Regions from separate parts of the Homo sapiens genome. Here regions 2 and 3 are each linked to region 1. The links are contacts of gene promoters, found by promoter capture Hi-C in blood cells and fetal thymus (Javierre and others, 2016). All regions are on one chromosome and are shown on one strand. The core of a region is centred on a gene start or on the middle of the fragment in contact, and the rest is flanking DNA. Distances in the headings are between cores, read along the strand shown.

The links. The method cuts DNA at HindIII sites, captures the fragments that hold promoters and counts their contacts. A CHiCAGO score of 5 or more calls a contact.
Region 2: a fragment that was not itself captured here is called in contact with the fragment with the promoter of AVPR1A in region 1 in 2 of 17 cell types (M2 macrophages and endothelial precursors); the score reaches 5.2 in M2 macrophages.
Region 3: a contact is called between the fragment with the promoter of RXYLT1-AS1 here and the fragment with the promoter of AVPR1A in region 1, in 2 of 17 cell types (M0 macrophages and M2 macrophages). The highest score is 6.4, in M0 macrophages.

Annotation. Positions count from the first base shown.
Region 1 is chr12:63,149,650-63,153,658 of GRCh38, forward strand. AVPR1A (arginine vasopressin receptor 1A) reads right to left here and starts at 1,552. Exons shown (of 2, transcript NM_000706.5): 1 at 218-1,552. The coding sequence starts at 1,187. The HindIII fragment of the contact is 3,248 bases long and covers 1-1,759 here.
Region 2 is chr12:63,755,044-63,758,981 of GRCh38, forward strand. No RefSeq gene overlaps it. Among named protein-coding and RNA genes, the nearest start is that of RXYLT1, 23 kb to the right of the region's middle. The HindIII fragment of the contact is 6,982 bases long and covers 1-3,938 here.
Region 3 is chr12:63,819,657-63,823,579 of GRCh38, forward strand. RXYLT1-AS1 (RXYLT1 antisense RNA 1) reads right to left here and starts at 2,500. Exons shown (of 4, transcript NR_126167.1): 1 at 2,273-2,500. It also overlaps the pseudogene PABPC1P4. The HindIII fragment of the contact is 5,765 bases long and covers 1-3,067 here.

The DNA.
Region 1 (4,009 bases), core at 302-2,801:
AATATGCTTTTTTTTTTTTTAAACAGTGTTCCTCCAAGGTGCGACTCTTATGTACACATAGAAGTTTAAAAACTACTGCCCTAGAAGATACTATGAAGAAAATTGCTAGATTCTCATTTTTTTCTCTCTCTCTCTCTCTCTCTCTCTCTCACACACACACACACACACACACACACACTCCTATCCCTGCACTTTCCTCTATTTTCCCGGCACGTACCGGTCCAGACGGACATGGGATCCCAGACAGACCACATCTGGATGATGAAGAAAGGCGCCCAGCAGACGATGTAAGCCGTCACGATCACAAAAGTCATCTTCACCGTGCGGATCTTGGCCCGGGAAATGGACTTCACGCTGCTGACACAGGGTGCGAGCAGGAACCCCTTTTGGAAGGCCACACCCGCTTGCTCTGCACCCTTGCTCTGGCGCGACGCCGTCTTCCCGCGGACGTTGCACCAGATGTTGTAGCAGATGAAGCCGTAGCAGGTACCCAAGATGACCACGGGCGCCACAAAGATGCCGCCCGTCATCCAGGTCACGTAGGCACGAGAACCCCAGGGCTGGATGAAGGTGGCCCAGCAGTCGCGGGCCTTGGTGACATTGTTCACCTCGATCATGGAGAAGACGAAGTACTGCGGCGTGCTCAGCACGAAGCTCAGCACCCAGGCGGCCGCGATCATGAGGCGCGAGCGGCGCGCGGGCTGTTGCAGAGTCTTGAGCGGGTGGCACACCGCGATGTAGCGGTCGGCTGTCATGACTACCAGCATGTAGGCCGACGCAAACATGCCGAACACCTGCAGGTGCTTCACCACGCGGCACAGCCAGTCGGGGCCGCGGAAGCGGTAGGTGATGTCCCAGCACATTTGCGGCAGCACCTGGAAGAATGCCACGGCCAGGTCGGCCAGGCTGAGGTGTCGGATGAAGAGGTGCATGCGGGACGTCTTGCGCGGCGTCCGGTGCAGAGCCAGCAGTACGCTGCTGTTGCCCAGCACGGCCACCGCGAAAGTCACCGCCAGCACGGCGATCTCCAGTTTGGCCAGCTCCTCGTTGCGCACGTCCCTCGGTGGGCCGTTGCCCTCCCCGAGGGCTTCGGCCTCCCGGCTTGTGTTGCCAGCGCCGGTGGCCAGAGGCCACCATGGGCTGGAGTTGCCCGAGGGCCCCGCGTCGGGACCGGCGGAGAGACGCATGCTGTCCATGCAGCTCCTACTCGGCCCTCTTCGGAGCTCCAGCCCTCGCGGGCCGCTCCCTCCCCGTCTCGGAGGACTTGGGCTCCTCGTCCGAAGCGCAGGGTCTTTGGCGCGCTCGCAGCTTGCCGGGCTCTGCGATCCCTCCAGTGGGCGTCTCCCGGAGCAGCGTCCCGCCTGCCCACTGAGCAGCTCTCAGCAGGGTGAGCTGGCCCCTCTCCCTGCTCTGCCTTTTTTCAACTTCGGCGAGGTCGGGAAGGTGAGCTCCGAGCTTCCGGAAGCACTGGGTTCCCAACTCAAGTATTTATGCGGTGCTTGTTTCCTTGGGACGCGCTCCCTCCCGCCCTATTGCCGGAAGACTGCTGGTTGCCTACTCCCCGCTCCCTGGAGTTTTATTTTTTCCTCTCCCTACGTCGGTGTTTGTCCTCTGCATCACTGTGGAGGGGGTGGAGCTGGGAGACTCGCAGATTCCTCCTCACAGTAGGTGGGATCGTGGCGCTTTCCCGCTTTTCCCTTCCAAAAACTTGGACAACTGGACGAGTCATGCCTTTTCTGGGCTCGTAGCCGTTTCCACAAGCTTCCCTCACTAGCCTTCCTCGCTAGCCTCCTTAACCATGCATTTGACTTCAACAGGCACGCTAAGCGCGGTACCTGGAAACCTCCAGTCCACGCACCGGCGTCCACGCATCTAGCTCCTGCACCTGAACCTGGCTCTCGACCTCACCTCCTCCAGTCCGGGTTTCTTCCTTCTCACCGAGCTCACCCGTGCAGCAGTCTGGCAAATTTTATTCCCCAGGCAAATTTTCCCGGGGCAAACATTTCTCCCCGCTCGTGACTTAAAGAGCTATCTCTTCCTAGTAACGTCTTTGATGCATGCTATTTATTACCCTATGTTTGCGACGGGAAGAACGCACTCATCACTTTGCAGCCCCAGTGGCTGCTGTGCCTGTATTCACAGCGGGGTTTGGGGGGAGTGTCTCCTGGTTTTCTCTATGGAGACTAGGGACTTAAGGAGTTTTCTCTAGATTCCTGGGGTTTTCTGCGGGAAAAGCCTGATTCCCACAGCGGGGATGGCGGAAATTTGGCCGCAGTGGTCCGTGGGGACCGTCTGGTTACTACTGAGTCGTGGGGACATCTTTTTGGGTGGACAAAGAGCAGCTGCCGGACAGCGGCCATCCAGGCAGTGCTGTCCAGGGCAAGGGACAGAAAACCCGCCCGGCTCCTGTGCTCAGGAGTAAGAAAGAGGCAATCTCAAAGAGAGGAAAGAGGCCCTGGGAAGGAGGGGAAACAACCACCTACCTAGTAATCCGTTACTCTGAACAGCTGGAGCCCCTCTGCAGGGCGGGAGGGAGGCAGAAATGCGATCTCCCTCAGCTCTGTTTTAACGTTGGTGAAGATATGCCTCGACGGACAGCAAGGGGGAGCTGTTTTCAGGCAATTTTACAAGGAAGAAAGGAAGCCGTTTCTGCAGTTATCTGCTGTGTAGATGCAGGAGCATGACTTTGTTGGTCAGAACGTTTCAGTATTGTGGCCGTGGTATAAATTTAATTGCCTCAGAAAAATATCACCCTCTGTGAAACGTAGGCAAAAAATGCAAAAGATTTTATTCATTGCAGTTCTCAGTAATAATTCCACTTTACTATCCAGTCCGTTCATGCAGAGTTACCAAGGTTGTCACGTTGAGATGCTGGACTTGAAATCTGGAGTCCTGCTTCCTGTGGCTAGATAATCCTGGGTCTGTGCGTCTTATAAATGGAAATGAAAGGACCTGCCTTTCCTGTTGTTGAGGTCATCGGGAAGATCAAGTAAGACAATGTTCTGTATGGGGGAAATGCTCTAAAAACTGAAAGCTGTGTTGTGTTGGTTCATTTTCTCCAAGATATCCAGGAGGCAGAAGATTGAAATGGTTCAGGGATGGAAGGTAATAGGTAAAAGGTTTCCAGACCACCTGTCTGGAAAAAATCCTTCAAGCAATTAGGTAATAGTCACTGACTCAGAGAATTCACTTTCTTTTAAGTCACAAATTACACTATTAGTGCTCCTGATGAGAAAGAATGTTGACTGAACCTAGTGTCTGGGTATTGCAAAAGTGGTTTGTTGGCCACAGCCTAGTAATTTTGTGGCTCTTGGCCCTACACACTTGAGCTTTTAGGTTTTTTTCAGGAGAGGAAATCTGCAATACAGGCTCACCAATATCTCTGTGGAGGTTCTTATTCCAGGAGATAGGGTGGTGGCCTCTCAGGAAATCATCTGTGTCAGACAATCTGATCCAATTATAAAACTATATCCAATTATCCAAATTATAAAAATAACCTCTCAAGTTATGTTGGTGGATACAGTTGGAAGATATTATTGTTCAGTGACAACAGTACCAATTATCCATATATATCAAATGTATATATGCTTGATACATAGATGTATGTTTATATGTATGCATCTGGCCATTCTATGTATCATGTGTCAATCAATCATCTATCTATCTGTCTATCTATCTATCTATCTATCTATCTATCTATCTATCATCCATCTATCTGTCTCTCGCTGGTTGTGCTGGATGCCATGGGGCCTGGAAAGCAGGAAAAAAAAATGTTCATTGCAGATTGTAGAACCAGTCCCTTTGTTTAATCCATATAGTTTTAAACATGTTTTTGACTTAATTTAACTGGTTTTATATACAAAGGAAAGCAGGACTATTACATATGAGGCACTACTCATATGCCTCACTGGACCTGCTATTAAATTACCCCATAGAGAGTAAAATAATTGTGGTCTTAAAATATGAAAAAGAAAACACAACAGACAATATTTTATGTGGCACCTTGTGC
Region 2 (3,938 bases), core at 486-2,985, 610 kb after region 1:
TTCAAGCAAAACAGAGTACAGAAAAAGATTCCCCAAGAATGTAAGAAACTAGTTCCTCATCCACTAAAAACTAATAACTCTGTTTAACTCTCACAGTTCTTCAAAAGGATAATGAATATCTCCCTTCATCCACATGAAAAGGAGTGAAGTATGCCTCACAATGTTAACCTGATAACTTCCATTTAAGCCACAGATGGCCTGAAGGAAGATTTATTTTCTTCCTGGGGTTGTCCAGAGCATGGGGTTTTACAGCCAGAATGTTTCTGGTTCTACTTTTCACTTCGAGTAGCTAGAGCCTAAAGTCTACCAACAATTTCCACTCGTATCCCCCAGATACTTCCGTTTCAGTATGTACAAAATGGAACCTACCTCCTCCCACTTCTATGGCCCAGTGAATGGTACTACTATCAGAAATCTAGAAATAATCCCACACTCCTCCCTCCACATCCGTTGGTTGCTATGTACCTGTGATCCTACCACCTAAATTTTTCTCATGTCCTCTTATTTTTTCAGTCTCATCATTTCTCATCTGGACTACAGCAATTCCTAAATAAGTATTGCCATGCCTCCATCTAACTTATATTTCATAGTTTAATAAAATGAATCTTTCAAAATGAAAATCTGATTAGTTTAATTCAAATGTCTTAGCTGGGAACCGAAGGCCTATTAGGATCTATTCCATGATTACCTCTCTAATGCCATCTCTTGGTACTTCATCTCATACCCTACACAGCAGCCGAATAAAACCAACAGCAATTTGCTGAATGAGTCCTGCTCCATCCCACCTTCATACCTTTCCCTAGAAAGTGCTTTTCTCTCTTTGCCTGGAAAACCACTATTCATGCTTTAACACTTAATTGATGCATTACCACCTTGAGGAATGCTACCTTGATTCTGCCCCCAAGGAGCAGTATACCATGGTATTTAAGAACAGGGGTTCATGAGCTCAAGCTGCTAGCTCTATGACCTTTGTCAAATAATTTAACCTCTCTGTGCCTCAGTTTCCTCATTTGTAAGTTGGGGATAATTCCTCATAGGATTTTTGAGAAAATTGAACAAGACACTATATATAAAAGTGGTTTGAGCTGTTTCTGGAATATGGTAAGCACTCAATAATATATATGAGCTTTTTTCTTTCCAAGATTATGTTAAATTCCTTAGTTTTATGGTCCCAGACTTTCATGACCTACCCAAATGTGATGGAAATTGTGGACTGATTCACAGAGTCTTATCAACTTGTCTTGTAGTTCGAGAAATTGAAAAGCTAAAAATGTTACACTCACTGCCTTCAGCTAACATTCTGCATGTATCCTATGCCTAACGGGTAAGATTTAAAGAGCAGAAACTAATCACAGGTCATCTTCCAGTCAGTTCTTTAGCAGTCTTTGCAAGCAAATATCATCTTGGAAATGACTATGTTTCAGCTGGTTCCCTGTTAGGAGTTTTGAATATTCATTCTTTGGTTTGCTGGGTGCCAGAAGCAAAAGCACAGTGGCAGCAGAGGTGTTGGTGGCAGTCTTGATTTTGGAACACCCTTTATGTGGCCTCACGGAAGCTCCCCTGTAGGTGAGATCTCTGTTGTTCTGAAGACATTGCTGGATCCATAAGACATAGTGAATCTTAACTAACAATCTAGGTCAACCCCAGTATAAACTTTCATTTCTTCCAGCATAAACTCTGCAATCCAGTCAGGGTGCTTCCCTACTTTCCAAATACTCCATGATTTCCTCATCTTCCCACTTTTCTTACGCCATTTCCACCTCACTCCCACCCCTCTAGAATCATTCTTGTAATCCCAAATCTTCCATTTGACACTACCTTTTAGAAAACTCCTTCATTTATATGCAGTCATAGCTCCAATATAAACACTTTTTATTTGGCAATTTTTGGCAAAAGTAATCTGCAACAATAAAACAAGGATTAGGCAAGTTTACATACATATGATCACAACCTAGCCAAGAAAACTTCATTAATCATTTCCATAGAGGCCATATTTAACTTGGAGATCTTTTTCTCAGGACTTTGTAGGCTTTTTCAAAGTCTATTTAATGCCTCTTACTTCTGGTAAAAGAAATTTCTGCAGCCCCAAGTTCAACATATAAATAATTTTAAGCTAACTTATATCACCCTTGGGGAATACAACATTTTGAATCAAAAGAGCCAGTTTAAACCAGGCCTGGTGGCTCACTTCTGTAATCCTCGCACTTTTGGAGGCCAAGGCAGGAAAATTGCTTGAGCCCAGGAGTTCAAGACCAACCTAGGCAATATGGCAAGACCCTGCCTCAATTTTTTAAATAAAATTTTAAAAAAATTAAAAAGAGCCAGTTTAGACCAAATATGTGTTCCAAGATCTACCATTTTTAGGTAATGCTGAATTTCAGCACTCTTTTATTAGAATAGGGAATAGACCACAGTCTACAATCAGGTTATATATTTTAAAGCTGGAGATATAAGTTTTGATTCTACCTTGTTCAGTGATCTTAGGTAAGTAGTTTAAACTATCTGAGTAAATTATACAATTTAAGTAAAAGTCAGCAGCATAAAAACACTGCAATTCTAAAGCTACTGAGGTTGCTTTAGAAACACAGTCCTCTAAAACTGAGGGTCCTCTACCGTGTCTTCTCTGAAGTGGCTCTTTTACTGTCCAAGCCATTTTGAACATGTGGGTTCCAATATGCTTCAGTAGAAACCTTCCTGTGAGGAAAGTAACCTTAACTCAGTTTTTTGCTAAGCTCTGTTACATGCTATATATGTATATATATATAGCATCTGATAGTTTCAAAAGTCTTAAGTACCTTTTTGTGTAACAGCTCAGGATTTTTAGATTCCCTCTTTATTGAAGATAAAGCCTTCAGCGTGAGTGAAAGGCACTGACCTGACTAGCAATTTGAGTAGATACACAAAGCTGGACACTCAAAATTGTCTCTGTCTTCTGATACTGCCACACTGTAAAGGAAAACCCTAAGTACCCCAGCTCTCTCTTCTCTTAAGCCCAGTGCGTCCCCAGGAAGCATCTTAGTCATGACACCCCTGGTGGTCCATCCTTCCAGCTTCCATACATGAATAGTATATTCCTTCACTATTGCTGCTTTAACGAATTACCACAAATGAAGTGGCTTACGGCAACACCCAAGCATTATCTCACAGTTCTACAGGTCAGAATTCCAGGGGAGGCTCAGCTGGGTCCTCTGGTCAGAGGTCATCAAAGTGCTGGCTGGTCTGGACTCTTATCTGGAGGCTCTGGGGGAGACCCTGCTTCCATGCTTATTCAGATTGCCAGTATGGTGGGTCCTGTTGCCTTGCTGGCTGTGGGCCAGGGCTCATTTTCAGCTTCTGGAAGTTGCCAATTGTCCTTGGGGTTATGCTCCGCTCCTTCAAAGCCAGCAACATTCAATTCCTTCTTACATTTCAAATCAATCGGATGTCTTCTGTTACATCTCTCTAACTTCCTGCCTTCTTCTTCTGCCTTATTCTTCTGGTTTGAGGGTTCATGTGAATACATTGGGTCTACCCAGAAAATCCAAGAATCTCCTTATTTTAAGATTAAATAATTAGTAACTCTATTTATATCTGCAAAGTTCCCTTTGCCATGTAAGATAATATATTCATGCTGCCAGGGATTAGGGGCTACAGAGTGTTCTTGGGGGCTTTAATTCTGCCTACCACAATCAGACATGTCTGAAACCAAGGCTTTCCAGCTGGGGCACCTGGTTCTTACAGCACTCAGTGAACCAGGGAGATGGTAGAAATCTTTATCTGCAAGTGTCCACCTAAAATCCATGAAGGATACAACTTATTTGTTAAATGTTAGAATTATTGCATAACAATAAGTATATTGGCCGGGCATGGTGCCTCATGCCTGTAATCCCAGCACTTTGGGAGGCTGAGGTGGGCGGATCACCTGAGGTCAGAAGTTCGAGACCAACCTGGCCAACATG
Region 3 (3,923 bases), core at 1,250-3,749, 670 kb after region 1:
GAAATGCTAAAGAGAGTTCTTCAATTTGAAAGAAAAGGTACAAAACTCACTGGTAATAAATAAGTACATGGAGAAACACAGACTATGATAACACTGTAACTGTGGTATGTAAACTACTCTTGTCATAAGCAGAAAGATTAAATGATGAATCAATCAAAAATAATAACTATGACAACTTTTTAAGACATGAACAGTACAATAAGATATAAATAGAAACAACAAAAAATTAAAAAGGGGGGATGAAGTTAGAGTGTAAACTTTTTATTAGGTTTCTTTTTGCTTGTTTGTTTATACAAACAGTGATAAGTTTTTATCAGCTTAAAATAATGGGTTATAAGATAGCGTTTGCAAGCCGCATGGTAATCTCAAATGAAAAAAACATGCCATGAATACACAAAAAACAAAAAGCAAGGAACTAAATCATATCACCAGAGAAAATAATATTTACTAAGGGAAAACAGGAAGAAAAGAAAGAAAGAAGACCACAAAACAGCCAGAAAACAATTAACAAAATTGCAAAAGTAAGTTCTTACTTATCAATAATAACATTGAATGTAAATTCTTCAATGGACTAACCTCTCCAATCAAAAGACATAGAGTAGCTAAATGGATAAAAAAATAAGACCCACTGATCTGTTGCTTACAAGAAAGACACTTCACCTACAAAGACACACATAGACTGAAAATAAAGGGATAGAAAGATACTCCCTGCCAATAAAAACCAAAAAAGAGCAGGAGTAGCTATACTTAGACAAAATCGATTTCAAGACAAATCTAAAGAAGAGACAAAGAAGGTCACTATGTAAGGATAAAGGGGTCAGTTCAGCAAGAGGATATAACAATTTTAAATGTATATGTGCCCAACACTGGAGCACTCAGATATATAAAGTAAATATTATTAGAGCTAAAGAGAGAGATAGTTCCCAATATGATACTACCTGAAGACTTCAACACCCCACTTTCAGCACTGGACAGATCTTCCAGATAGAAAATTAATGAATTGGACCTAATCTGCATTATAAAACAAACGGATCTAATAGATATTTATGGAACATTTCATCCAATGGCTGCAGAACACACATTATTTTCCTCAGCACATAGATTATTCTCAAGAATAGACCATCTATTAGGTCACAAAATAAGTCTTAAAACATTAAAAAAAAAAAAAAAAAAACTGGGCCGGGTGCAGTGGCTCATGCCTGTAACCCAACACTTTGGGAGGCCGAGGCAGGCAGATCACAAGGTCAGGAGTTTGAGACCAGCCTGGCCAACATAGTGAAACCCCATCTCTACTAAAAATGCAAAAACTAGCCAGGCATGGTGGAACACACCTGTAGTCCCCGCTACTCGGGAGGCTGAGGCAAGGGAGTCACTCGAACCCAGGAGGCAGAGGTTGCAATGAGTTGAGATCACGCCACTGCACTCCAGCCCGGGTGACAGAGGGAGACTCAGTCTAAAAAAAACCCTGAAATAATATCAAGCATTTTCTCTGACCACAATGAAACAAAACTAGAAATTAATAACAAGAGGAATTTTGGAAACTATGCAAACATATGGAAATTAAACAATATACTCCTGAACGACCAGTGGATCAATGAAGTAATTAAAAAGGAAATTGAAATATTTATTGAATCAAATGATAATGGAAACACAACATACCAAAACCTATGGGATACAGCAAAAGCAGTACTAAGAGGGAATTTTATAGCTACAAGTGCCTACATCAGAAAAAAAGAAAAACTGGCCGGGCGTGGTGGCTCACGCCTGTAATCCCAGCACTTTGGGAGGGCTAGGCGGACAGATTACCTGAGGTCAGGAGTTCCATACCAGCCTGGCCAACATGGTGAAACCCCGTTTCTACTGAAAATACAAAAATTAGCCCCTTCTCCCGGCAGTTAGTGCTCAGAGTGCGGAGTGTGTGCTCCAGGCTCGGAACATACATTTATTATTAAAAAAAAATCTAAAAAAATATTTTAAAAACTTTCCCACAATTTACAAAAAATCCGCCTCTCCCCTGCCATAGACTTTTATTTTTTTCTTCTTCTTCTTTTATAAAGTAACCCCGTGAAGCAGCCGAGGCCGACTCGCCCGCCCGCAGCAGCTCCAAAAAGGAACCAAGAGACCGAGGCCTTCCCGCTGTCCGGACTGACACCTCCACCTTCGCCCGCAGCCAGCGGCAGCGGATCAACACCATTCTGGGGCGGTGAAGTAGTTTTCGATTCCGGGTGATTTTTGTCCCTCTGCGCTTGCGCTTGCGCTTGCCCCCGCTCACCTTCCCCCAGCTCCGGCCCCTAGCCCCAGCATTCGCTCTCCTCCTCTCACGGAAAGGTCGCGGCCTGTGGCCCTGCGAGCAGCAGTGCCGAGATGAACCCCAGTGCCCCCAGCTACGTCCTCGCTGTACGTGGGGGACCTCCATCCCGACGTGACCGAGGCGATGCTCTACAAGAAGTTCAGCGCGGCCGGGCTCATCCTCTCCATCCGGGTCTGCAGGGACATGATCACCCACGGCTCCTTGGGCTACGCGTATGTGAACTTCCAGTAGCCCGCGGACGCGGAGCATGCTGTGAACACTATGAATTTTGATGTTATAAAGGGCAAGCCAGTACGCATCGTGTAGTCTCAGCGTGATCCATCACTTCGCAAAAGTGGAGTGGGCTACATATTCATTAAAAATCTGGACAAATCCATTGATAATAAAGCACTGTATGATACATTTTTCTGCTTTTGGTAACATCCTTTCATGTAAGGTGGGCTGTGATGAAAATGATTCCAAGGGCTATGGATCTGTACACTTTGAGACACAGGAAGCAGCTGAAAGAGCTATGGAAAAAATGAATGGAATGCTCCTAAATGATCGCAAAGTATTTGTTGGACGATTTATGTCTCATAAAGAACGAGAAGCTGAACTTGGAGCTACGTGAAAGAGTTCACCAATGTTTACATCAAGAATTTCGGAGAAGACATGGATGATGAGCGCCTTAAGAATCTCTTTGGCAAGTTTGGGCCTGCCTTAAATGTGAAAGTAATGACTGGTGAAAGTGGAAAATCTAAAGGATTTGGATTTGTAAGCTTTGAAAGGCTTGAAGATGCACAGAAAGCTGTGGATGAAATGAAAGGAGCTCAATGGAAAACAAATTTATGTAGGTAGAGCTCAGAAAAAAGTGGAACGGCAGACAGAACTTAAGCGCAAATTTGAACAGGTGAGGCAAGATAGGATCACCAGATACCACCGTGTTAATCTTTATGTGAAAAATCTTGATGATGGCATTAATAATTAACGTCTCCGGAAAGAGTTTTCTCCATTTGGTACAATCACCAGTGCAAAGGTTATGATGGAGGGTGGTCGCTGCAAAGGGTTTGGTTTTGTATGTTTCTCCTCACCAGAAGAAGCCACTAAAGCAGTTACAGAAATGAATGGTAGAATTGTGGCCACAAAGCCATTGTATGTTGCTTTAGCTCAGCGCAAAGAAGAGTGCCAGGCTCACCTCACTAACCAGTATATGCAAAGAATGGCAAGTGTACGAGCTGTGCCCAATCTTGAAATCAACCCCTACCAGCCAGCACCTCCTTCAGGTTACTTCATGGCAGCTATCCCACAGACTCAGAACGGTGCTGCATACTATCCTCCTAGCCAAATTGCTCAACTAAGACCAAGTCCTCGCTGGACTGCTGAGGGTGCCAGACCCCATCCATTCCAAAATAGGCCCAGTGCTATCCGCCCGGCTGCTCCTAGACCACCATTTAGTACTATGAGACCAGCTTCTTCACAGGTTCCATGAGTTATGTCAACACAGCGTGTTGCTAACACATCGACACAGACAATGGGTCCACGTCCTGCAGCTGCTGCTGCTGCCACTCCACATTATAACTATGCTGCGGGAGTTCGCAGTCCTCAGAAACATCTTAATGCACAGCCACAAGTT